Regions from separate parts of the Homo sapiens genome. Here region 1 is linked to region 2. Evidence: promoter capture Hi-C in 16 types of primary human blood cells and fetal thymus (Javierre and others, 2016). All regions are on one chromosome and are shown on one strand. Each heading gives the region's core, a stretch centred on a gene start or on the middle of the fragment in contact. The rest is flanking DNA. Distances are from core to core; before and after follow the strand shown.

Region 1 (5,601 bases), core at 3,102-5,601, 2.7 Mb before region 2:
AGTGTATTTTCAGGACAGAGTTGTGAAGGAACTAGCACTTGTTCCATCAAGTTGTTTAAACTCCTACCATGTTTTATGCACCATCCATGTGGCTTTCATTTGTTACGACACTGAACTCTGACAACAACCTTGGTGGATGTGATGATTAATTTTATATGCCAACTTTATAGGCCATGGTGCCCGGCTATTTAGTCAAATATCATTCTAGATGTTTTTGTGAAGGTATTTTTTGGATGAGATTAACATTTATATCAGCGGACTTTAAATCAGTGGACTTTACCCTCCATAATTTGGGTGGGCCTTATCTAATCAGTTTAAGGCCTTAATAGAACAAAGTTTGACTTCCCCTCACTTTGGGAGGCCAAGGTGGGTGGATCACTTGAGGTCAGGAATTCAAGACCAGCCTGGCCAACATGGTAAAACCCTGTCTGTATTTTAAAAACTGCAAAAATTAGCCAGGCGTGGTGGCGGGCACCTGTAATCCTAGCTACTCGGGAGGCTAAGGCAGGGGAATCACTTGAACCCAGGAGGCAGATGTTGCAGTGAGCCGAGATCTCACCACTGCACCCCAGCCTGGGCAACAGAGCGAGACTCCAACTCAAAAAAAAAAAAAAAAAAAAAAAAGACTGACTTCCCCTAAGCAAGAAGAAATTCTGCCAGCAGAATGCCTGGGCATCCAAACTGCAACTCTTCCCTGGGTTTCCAGCCTCCAACCTACCCTGAAGATTTTGGACTTACTAAGCCTCCACAATTGCATGAGCCAATTCCTTAATAAAAATCTCTCTCATAGAGAGAGAAACACACAGACACACACCCTAATACAATAGATATTGCTCCCAATTTTACCACTGAGAAAAATGATGGCCTGACAGGACCCATTCTCCCTCTTCACTACATCACACACTAAAATGTGTGATTTGGGACTCACATTCTAGCCTGAGGGGCTCAGGTGGGAGGTACAAGGTAATAAGCATGCAACATTGTAACCACAAGCCACATATTCCAGAGAGCCCTTTATGACACTGATACCACACATACTACACATGTACCCAGAGCCTCGATGTGCCCAAGTGATGTACTATCCTCTCTCTGGTCTCCTAATTCAGTTATTTCAGGTAAAAGAAATCAAATAGTCCTACCTAACTCAATATTTGAAGACCTTGAAAAAGGAGGAAAAAATAATTAGTAAAGAATTAAAGTAAAAGATAAAAAGAAAAATAAAAAATGATTTGTGACAATTAAATGATGGTAGCCTTTGCTTTGTTTAGGTTCTTTTTGAATAATCATGCATTCACTCTTTCAACAACTATTTATTTTGTGCTTTATACTTTTTTATAGGCTCTTCTAGGTATTGTAGAGTACTAACGAGCTGGAGGGACACATACAATATAGTAAATGTGCAGGATGAAAAAAGACCAACTAAATTTCCTTAAAGAAGTCAAAGATTCGCAGAAGAGGTGAGACATTTCTGCTGGAATAGAATTATGAGTTTAAATAGTGGGGAAGAGGGATGGTATTCCAGACAGAATTTCTGACACAGTAAAAGTCACTTGAGTCTGTTAGGTTGCTAAAAGTGGGAGCTGGGATGGGGAATTATGGCAGAATATAAAGTTGGAACGACCAGCTAGGGTTACATAGTAAGGAACAATGGATTCCCATGCCAAGGTGTTTGGCCTTTATCCTGCAATCAGAGTTATGAAGAATTTCTAAGCAGGGGAGGGATAAGACCATGGGCTAAGCCTTCTTAGAGACCACTCCATAAAACCACATCCTTTATATACATAGAAGGACAGCTGGGTCCAGCTTGGTCACTGGGGCAGATATAACCACAGGTAAATCATTATAAAGTTTAATAAAAATTAAACCTTGAATAAAAAACTAAGCCTTACAGTTTTAATAATAAGTTTATTACTAGAAGGCATCAAAGTATTTCATGTGCTCTAACTTAAAAACTTAAAGTTGAGTTCACACATAGTCCTAACTAAAAATCAATGGTTCAGAAATTGGCAACTAGTATAATTATAATTATGCAATAAATACATATGTAAAAGTTTTCCTCAGAAAATGAAATAAAACTCAATTGGAATAGACAGAAGAAAAATTATTATTATGGTAATAAATACATACGTGGAATCTGTATCCTAAAATATAAATTAAATATAAGCCAGTGGACAAAATGTGGCTGAGTAAAGCTGGACTTTGCATATCATCAAAAATGGAAAAAGAAACAGTGTTGAATTATATTTCTAAGGAGTGTAGTGGCCAAGAAAAGAATCTACAATAAAGGAACATAAATTAGGAACTAAGGTACTAACAACTCATTTGTTCCCTTCCTCTTTTCTGCTGATAGTTCTCTTTTTCATCAATCCCAATGGGATTTTAGAGATCTCCCAATCCAATAGTCCTCCCCACCGTTTTACTTTAGCAGTTGAGTTCTGCAAATAGTTGTATATAAAATCCCAGCATATAAAACAGGTAAAAGCTGAAAGAGATCCAAGAGAGGGTACTAGAGCACCTAATTTGGCCTCCACTTCAGCCTTCATCCACTTTCCCTCTGAAACAGCTCCCCAAAGAGCCCTTAATTTTCCTCAGTAAAGTGTAAAACACATTGGTCCTTGTCCCAACCCTCCTAATTTACAAATGAGGGAATTATGCCCTAGAGAATTAATTTAAGGGAGTTGCCTGAGAAAAAAGATTATTTCCTAGTACCCCTGCTAAAATTAAAATGTTTTCTCTTCCTCATAAACTTGAACTCAAATGTCTGGGTTAAAAATTGTTTCTTGGCTGGGGACACAGTGGCACACGCCTGCAATCCCAGCCCTTTGGGAGGCCAAGACAGGGGCATCGCTTGAGCCCAGGAGTTCAAGACCAGCCTAGGCAAGATGACAAAATCCCATCTCTATTTTTAAAAATAAAAAAATTTTTAAATTATTTCTAAGTTATTCTGGAAGTCTATGACATCCCTCTACCACAAATTCCCATTCCAAATTCACATAAGGGCTGGGCTCAGTGGCTCACACCTGTAATCCCAACACTTTGGGAGGCTGATGCAGAAGGATTATTGAGCCCACAAGTTCAAGACTAGCCTGGGCAACATAGTGAGCCTTGTCTCTGCACAATTAACAACAACAAAATTTCACATAGGTCTATAACCACATATTATATGAGTGCCTACTTGAAGCCAGATACTCTGCTAAGAGTACGTTATCTGCTCTCATTCAACCATCACCACAAACCCCAAGAGATCAAGGAACTAGGCTCACAGAAGTACTGTAACCTGCCCAAGGTCACAGAGCTAGCAGGGTGGAATCCGGTTCTATCTGACTCCTAAAGCCAAGCTTCAGACCCTTGCACTCTTTCTAATCCCAACCTTTTCCAAATCTTTTCCTATTTTTACACAGGCTTTCAGAAATGCTGAACTGTAAGGATTACTTGTCATTTCACAGAGGATGTACTTTTCCATCAAGACCTGTGGGGGAATGCCTCATGCTGCAGCCAAGCACAAAGGCATCAAGCCCAAAAACCTCTAATTTCACGTTACAGACCATAGAAAGGCTAATCCCCACCCCCACCACAAACTCCTACAACTCCTTTTACAAGCATAGGCTACATACATTCAGTCTTATGGGGAATAGGGACTGTCAACAATTCTTAATAATAGGGCTACAAAATCAGCTCTGAGCTGACCCCTTCTGAGAGGCTGGCTTTTAGGATGGATAACTATCCAATATTTTCTAATAGGTAAAGATATTAAAATTTGTATTTAGGGCTGCCTTGGGGCAAAGGATGACTATCACCGCAGACTAGGTACCAGAGCTGGCATTTAATAATTTGAATTTGAGGGAAGGTCAAGGGAGTTCGGATTGGGGCACCCTCTGGGAGCAGAGGGAGTTGAAGTGACTGTCGTGTCCAATTACAGAAAAGCCTGAATCAAGAGTATGCAGCCAAAACTACTACCAAATTATTGGTAATGGGAGGAGAAAATTTAAACAGAACTGGGATTTGGGACCACCTTCTGGAAGATGTTAGCCAAAAACCGAACAGATCCTAGGCATCAAGGGGTGTGAATTTCGAGGTAGGCTCCGTTGCCCGGGCTCTGAGGGTCAGGGTTCCCGGCGGTTGGGCCTGGGACGGCGAAGCCCCCGCTCCCCCTTACCTTCTGTTGGAAGTAGAGAACCGAATAGTTCTTGGCTACAGCCGGGAGGGATGTGGGGTTGGTTGGCAAGTGTAGGCTGCCGAGGGCCCTTAAGGCCGGCCGGAGGGCTATGGTGGCCCAGGGCGCCAGAAAAGACAGAAGCAGGAGCAGGAGGGCTCGGCGGCCCATGGCTCAGGCTGGAGACTGCAGTGCGGGTGGGAGGGCGAAAAGGAGGCCAGCAGAAGCGCACAGGCTAAGCCCTGCCCAGCCTGCAGCTCCGCCCGCCGCAAAACAGCTCCTCCCAGGGGAAACCCAAAGCCAGCCAGCTCCTCAGAGACGCCGCCCAAGCCAGGTCACCACAGCCACTCCGCCCCCATCCCCGAGGACACCGCCTCCACTCCACTTTCCTCTCGTGCCATCTGCTCCTTAGCACTCACCTTCATTGCGGTCACACCCCAAGTCTGCCCTTATCATGCTAGGGCCTCTTCCTAACTCATCGCTGTAGCCCATGCTTTATCTATAGCGCCCCCGAAGCCCACCTGTCCTTCAGGTCACCCAATATCCCTACCATTATCATCACCACCAAACCCTGCCCTGGCCACCGCAATTCCATTGCGACACCTCCTGCCTTCCGCAAATCCTACGTAACGGCAATAACAGCTACCATGACAATTTATTGAAGGTTCACTACAGGCCAGTGTATCACGAGGCAGGGAGGCACACGCATCATCTCCTCTAACTAAATCGTCACAGCAATCTTGTGCGTCGTATATGATTGTTATTCCCATCTACAGATGTGGAAACTGAGGCTCAGAGAGGTGCGGGAACTTGCACTAGATCACTCAGCAGTGAGCGGAGCACGTCGTCGCAGACCGCTGGGTCCAGGTCCAAAGACTGTGCTCCTTGCACCCACCTCCATCTGGAGCCTAACCACTCCCTATGATACTCCGTTCTTGGGTCACCCCAAAACTGTGTTGCTCGCACAACCCATCCATTACACAGGTCGCCCCGGGTCCACATCGCCCCTAAATCCCGCCAGGTCCCGGTCCCTTCTTTCAAATAACGCCCCCTTTCTTCTCCGGCACCCGAAAACCCACTCCGCGCTCCACCCCCCTCCTGCCTCCTGCCACCGCCCCCTTCCTCCCTCCGCCCGTGGGTAGTGCTAGCCCCTAGGACAGCGCCGGGTCTGGCTTCCAAAGCTCCCTCAACCCTCTTCATCCAGCTTCCATTCCCTCTTTCAGTCACCCCGCCAGACCCCAGGGCGCTGCGGCTCACTCCACACTTTCCCGGGAACCCTACGCCCAGGAGGCTCAGCGAAGCTCCAAAACCAATTTTACGGACTGTACTACTGATCCACCTGTCGGGGAGAAAGACTCTACCCGCAGTTTGACGAAAATGGTCGTTTCCAGATGCTTGTAGGATTTCCTCGCTAAGCTCCACCCTCTGCGGCGCCTTCTTCTGATTGG
Region 2 (5,653 bases), core at 415-2,914:
GAGGCGGGTGGATCACCTGAGGTCAGGAGTTCGAGACCAGCCTGGCTAACGTGGTGAAATCCTGTCTTTACTAAAAAATAAGCCGAGGCTGGGCACGGTGGCTCACGCCTGTTATCCCAGCACTTTGGGAGGCCGAGGCGGGTGGATCACGAGGTCAGGAGATAGAGACCATCCCGGCTAACACAGTGAAACCCCGTCTCTACTAGAAATACAAAAAAATTAGCCAGGCGTGGTGGCAGGAGCCTGTAGTCCCAGCTACTTGGGAGGCTGAGGCAGGAGAATGCTGTGAACCCAGGAGGCGGGGCTTGCAGTGAGCCGAAATCACACCACTACACTCCAGCCTGGGTGACAGAACGAGACTCAGTCTCAAAAACAAAAAAAAAAATCAGCTGATCAGCTGGGCGTGGTGGCACACGCCTGTAATCCCAGCTACTCTGGAGGCTGAAGCAGGAGAATCGCTTGAACCTGGAAGGCAGAAGTTGCAATGAGCTGAGATCAGGCCATTGCACTCCAGCCTGGCCGACGAGAGCAAAACTCTGTCTAAAAAATAAAAAATAAAAATAAAAAAAAGACTAGGAATTTTCCTTCTTGTACACCTTCGTGAAAATAAGTCTTTCTATTTGTGCAAGTTTAGAAACTGCAATTACAGACTTCTTGGCACTATGGAGCCTAATGGTCAAGCAACCCTGCAATGGAGAGACAGTATAAAAATTATCTGGACAATGCAACACTTTATCACTTGTTCAGAAATTTGAGAGGATGAGAATAATTAAGATTTCTGATAATGTGTTATGATCATGTATTTATTGCTACAGTTAGTTATATATTTTTTGGCACAATGTTTACCTGCTAATCTTAATGGAGTTAAGATAAAATTCAATTGTAGGCATTTTTCCCTTCTATTGGGTTAATTAGTCCAAGCGAACTGAGCAAAGGTTGCAGGGAGCCCCAGCATGGCTGAGGAAGACCTGGTGAGGCATCCACTGGCTGCTGGGAGGAGAGCATTAGAGGTACCTTCTGAACAGCACTGTCCAATAGAAATATAATGCAAGCCACATATATAATTCTAAATTTTCTAGTATTTATACTTAAAAAGCAAGAAGAAATAAGATGACTTTCACCCAACACTGCTTCCAAATAAGCAGTACTCTGGAGAACACGAGAAATCCTCAGAAAAATAAGCTGCAGCTCTGAGGTGCTGATTATGGTAGGGCAATCAATACAGATCAAAACATGGCACAGGGAGCTTAAGTTCCTAGGGAGAGTAGAAAATCGATAGAGCCAAGAAATAGCTCACCTTTGACTTATTTTTAACCTGAGTAGCTATCATATGCCAAGAGCTGTGCAGTTTTCATTTACCCCATGCCAAGAACGTAAGTAGGCTCTACTGACCAGGAAGTTAAGTAATATGCCCGAGGTACGTTTTCAATGGAAGAGGCTGACTGAGGGTCACCCAACTTATATCTCGAAATTTCACAATTTCTACAAGTTCTGTCCTGGGAGGCAAGAGTAGGTGAAACGAGCACACTCTACGCCAGGCAAACAAACCTCAACGCTTAGCCTCCCGGCACCTCCTAGGGCCGGAAGCTTCTCAGCCCAAAGCCGCTGCTGGCTGCAACCTCCGTCCCGCAGTCCAATTAGCAGCCGCGACCCGGCGCCCGCCCACGCCGCGTCACGAGTCAGCCAAAGATGGCTGCGCCCAGGTAATTTGAGCAAAGGCCACAGTGAACTCCGGCGTGGCTGAGGAAGGAGGAGGCACCCACAGGCTGCTGGGAGGAGAGCATAAGGTACTGGTATTCCGGGGGAGGGGGTGAAGTAAATGTCCCGGTGTCAGGAGAAGCACGACGCGGTGACACGCTAGCTACCAGCAGCGCTGCGCGTAAATGAGAGCAAGTAGAAGTGTAGTTAGCTCTTCCTGCTGTCTTTTCACTTTGCACTCTAGAAGGAAAGACCTTATATTTAAATTAACTCAGTAGAAAGGAGAAATGCCTGAGATTGAATTTAATCCCAGGTTTACTGTCAATTTACAAGGTGACCACGGCCAAATTTGATTTTCAGAGGTCCCACTTTACTTCTCTTTCAGATAGGCCCCACACTGCCTATCTCTCAGAGCTCTTCCAAGAATGACATGAGATAGGTAACACAAAAATCTTTCGAAATATTTGTAGTTTTTACAGGCGGCGTTGTCTTTGATAGATATTTGTTATTAATATCGGAGACAAAATGCCCACAGGGGCTGCCCAGTCAGCACTTATACTGAATTGAGTGACTTAATTGCCCTCAGTACAATATATACATACTAAATTTGATTATATATTTCACCACCCCATACACAAAATCATTCAGAGCTCCTGTACAGCAGAGATTGTGTCTTATCATCTTATCGTAGCCAAGGCCCTCAAAAATTTGACTACCAGAAACCTAGACATAAATTTCTAAGGCTGCTTTGTACTTATTAGGTTAGCTTTAAGTCTAGAGATATGGAATGTCAAGGTAATCAACATTTCCAAATGACCTCTTATCGATATAAAACAGGTAGCAATAAATATTTAAACGAGTGCCTGTAATGTTGTAGGAAATGAGAAAATCTGGTTTCATAAAAGCATGTTTTCCTTTGTTGTTATCCCTGAACTGTTTTTTTTTTTTTTTTTGTAGACCGAGTCTCGCTCTCACCCAGGCTGGAGTGCAGTGGCGAGATCTCGGCACACTGCAACCTCCACCTCCCAGGTTCAAGCGATTCTCCTGCCTCAGCCTCCCGAGTAGCTGGGATTACAGGCAGCTGCCGCCGTGCCTGGCTAATTTTTGTATTTTTAAAAGACAGGGAGTTTCACCATGTTGGCCAGGCTGGTCTCGAACTCCTGACCTCAGGTGATCCGTCTGCCTTGGCCTCCCAAGGTGCTGGGATTACAGGCGTGAGCCACTGCATCCAGCCTTTGTTTTTCTTAACTGTTACCCTGAAACCTGAGCCAAATCTTCATCATTCACCATTCCCTTCACATTTTCACCCTAACTAGTGCAGACATCAACAAACTACTGGCATGTAGGCCATATGCAGCCTATAGCTTGCCTTGGTACAGCCACCCAGCTAAGAATGATTTTTATGTTTTTATAGTTTTTTTAAAAACAAATATTCAACAAAGGCTGTATGTTACCTGCAAAGCCTACCACATTTACATCTGGCCCTTTAAAGTTTGCTGAGCCCTGATCTCAGGTATACCTAGAAATGAAATTGCTAGCTATGTGTGTCTTCTATCTGCTAAATAATACCAAATTCTTTCCCAAAGTGACTGTACAGTTTGGGTAAAGCTACCCCACAGAATGTACACAGAATGTAGTTTTAGCTACCCCGCATTCTTGCCAATAATTGGAATTGTCAGATTTTGATTTTAGCTAACCTATGGGTACCTATTGGTATCTCACTGTGGGTTGTTCCCCCAGTTATAATGAAGGTGAGCATATTTTCATGTTTATTGGCCATTTAACTTTCCTTTTTGTGAAGTGCCTGTTCAAATATTTTGTCAGTTTTTCCGTAGGGCTGCTTACCTTTTTCATGTTGATATGTAGTTCCATGTATGTTCTGGGTACTAACTACTCTTTTGTCAGTTCTATTGCATTTTCTCCCCCACTAGCTTATCTTTATGGTATATGTTGATAACCATAGGTTCTTAACTTCAATACTGTTAGTTTTATAAGTCTTTTATGTTTAGTGCTATTTGTGAATTGTTTAGGAAATACTTTCAAGGATTATGAAGATATTCTGTATTTCCTAAAAGCTTTATGTGTTGCTTTTCATGTTCTGGTTTCTGTTTCACTTAGATTTTTTTTTAATAATATGTATGCAATGATTTTTTTCAGATTAGCTCTACAGTATTATTTTTAGTCTTCAGAAGGTTTTTAAAATTCTTTGTATAAATTCTTGAGAAATGATATCTTCATGTTTTTTAAGGCTCAAAATGGAAAATCATAAATCCAATAATAAGGAAAACATAACAATTGTTGATATATCCAGAAAAATTAACCAGCTTCCAGAAGCAGAAAGGTAAGATCCCTTCTTAATTTAAAAACACCTTTTATCAGGTGGATTTTCACCATTGATTCATTATCTCAAGTTTATCTGGTTTGAGTATAAACAACATGGAATGTGAGAAGGAAATTGCCCTTTTCTTGCCTGGATGAGAGCGTTTAACCATTTTGCTCAACATCACATAGCTAATTGTGGAAGGTGAGGCTGGAACTCATGTCTTTGGACATACCTAATTGTATAATGTTTTGAGTTTTTCCATTAGGCTTGGAGTATAGTAAAATGTAAACATTTACAGACCCATTTAAATAACAAAACTTTAACTTTTAAAATGTCTTTTTTTTCCCAGTTCATTCTGTCAGTATGCTTACCAGTCTAAGAGTACCATAGAACACACATAGCAAGATAGAGAATGTCAGAGAAATAGGATCATGGCTAAAGATCTTTAAGATATTATTAAAGAGGGCCAGGCATGGTGGCTCACGCCAGTAATCCCAGCACTTTGGGAGGCCAGGGTGGGCAGATCACCTGAGGTCAGGAGTTCAGACCAGCCTGGCCAACATGGTGAAACCTCATCTCTACTAAAAGTACAAAAATTAGCTGGGCGTGGTGGCAGGTGCCTGTAATCCCAGCTACTTGGGAGGCTGAGGCAGGAGAATTGCTTGAACCAGGGAGGCGGAGGTTGCAGTGAGCCGAGATCACACCACTACACCCCAGCCTGGGCGACAAGAGTGAGGATCCGTCTCAAAAAAAAAAAAAAAAAAAAAAGATATTAAAGAGAAAAACCAATATAGGGAACATACTAATCTTTGCCAGGCAGCTAATGTGTACTTCCACAAAATGTCTTACACTTTGTTGACAGTCAAGAAGGTCTCTCTGACTATAAAAGGATGAAAAGCAGCCACCTGGGAAGGAGAGAGGGACAGTGTCTTAAGTAGAGGGAATGGCATATGCCTAGCCACAAGATAGCCAAGGCTTGTGGTACTTGAGTAACCATTGTTACCGAAGTACTAAGGAAGTGGGAGTAAGGACCAGGAATAGTTTTGAGCAGGGGGATGATGTTAGCATTTCTAAAGAACATTCCAGCTGCTTTTTGGAAAGCAGATTTGAGGTAGGAAAGAAAGGAAACACAAATACCAGTAGAAAAAATGGCACAGTAATCCTGGTGAGTGGAGATGGTAGGGGTGGTGACAGCTGAGATGAAAAGAGGATGCATTTAAAATACATTCTGGAAGCATAATCTTGCTATCTTCAGGAATAGAAACTGAACAAATCCCCATCTTGCTGCCACTTACCATCTTAATCAGGGAGAACCCATAAATCAAGACCAGTAGTGTTCAGAACAAGGATCTCCAAGGGGAAGAAAAAAAAGGCCAGTAGTAAGAACTTGGTGAGATCTTAAAAGCTCTTTCACCCCCCCTCCCCACACTCCAACTCCACTCCCTTCTAGTTGTTTTCCTGAGGTAACGGAAAACCTTTTAAAGCAAAAAAGGAACTATGTCCATGTTTCCAGGCCAGCAAGATAGGGAAAGTGAGAAAGACTAATAAAAGAGTAGTAGGCTGGGCATGGTGGCTCACACCTGTAATCCCAGCACTTTGGGAGGCGGAGGCGGGCTGGTCACCTGAGGTCAG

The links. Contacts are between HindIII fragments. The CHiCAGO score rates a contact against its expected background, and 5 or more counts as called.
Region 1: the fragment with the promoter of PRCP here is called in contact with the fragment with the promoter of TMEM126A in region 2 in 1 of 17 cell types (erythroblasts); the score reaches 6.6 in erythroblasts.

What each region holds. Positions count from the first base shown.
Region 1 is chr11:82,896,079-82,901,679 of GRCh38, forward strand. PRCP (prolylcarboxypeptidase) reads right to left here and starts at 4,352. Exons shown (of 9, transcript NM_005040.4): 1 at 4,157-4,352. The coding sequence starts at 4,324. LOC124902602 reads right to left here. Exons shown (of 2, transcript XM_047427953.1): 2 at 4,836-5,601. The coding sequence ends at 4,946. RefSeq lists enhancers at 4,078-4,127, 4,248-4,307, 4,458-4,557, 4,838-4,887 and silencers at 5,098-5,147, 5,198-5,287. The HindIII fragment of the contact is 4,585 bases long and covers 3,337-5,601 here.
Region 2 is chr11:85,646,303-85,651,955 of GRCh38, forward strand. TMEM126A (transmembrane protein 126A) reads left to right here and starts at 1,665. Exons shown (of 5, transcript NM_032273.4): 1 at 1,665-1,787; 2 at 3,947-4,039. The coding sequence starts at 3,954. RefSeq lists enhancers at 1,426-1,475, 1,646-1,915. The HindIII fragment of the contact is 2,186 bases long and covers 1,586-3,771 here.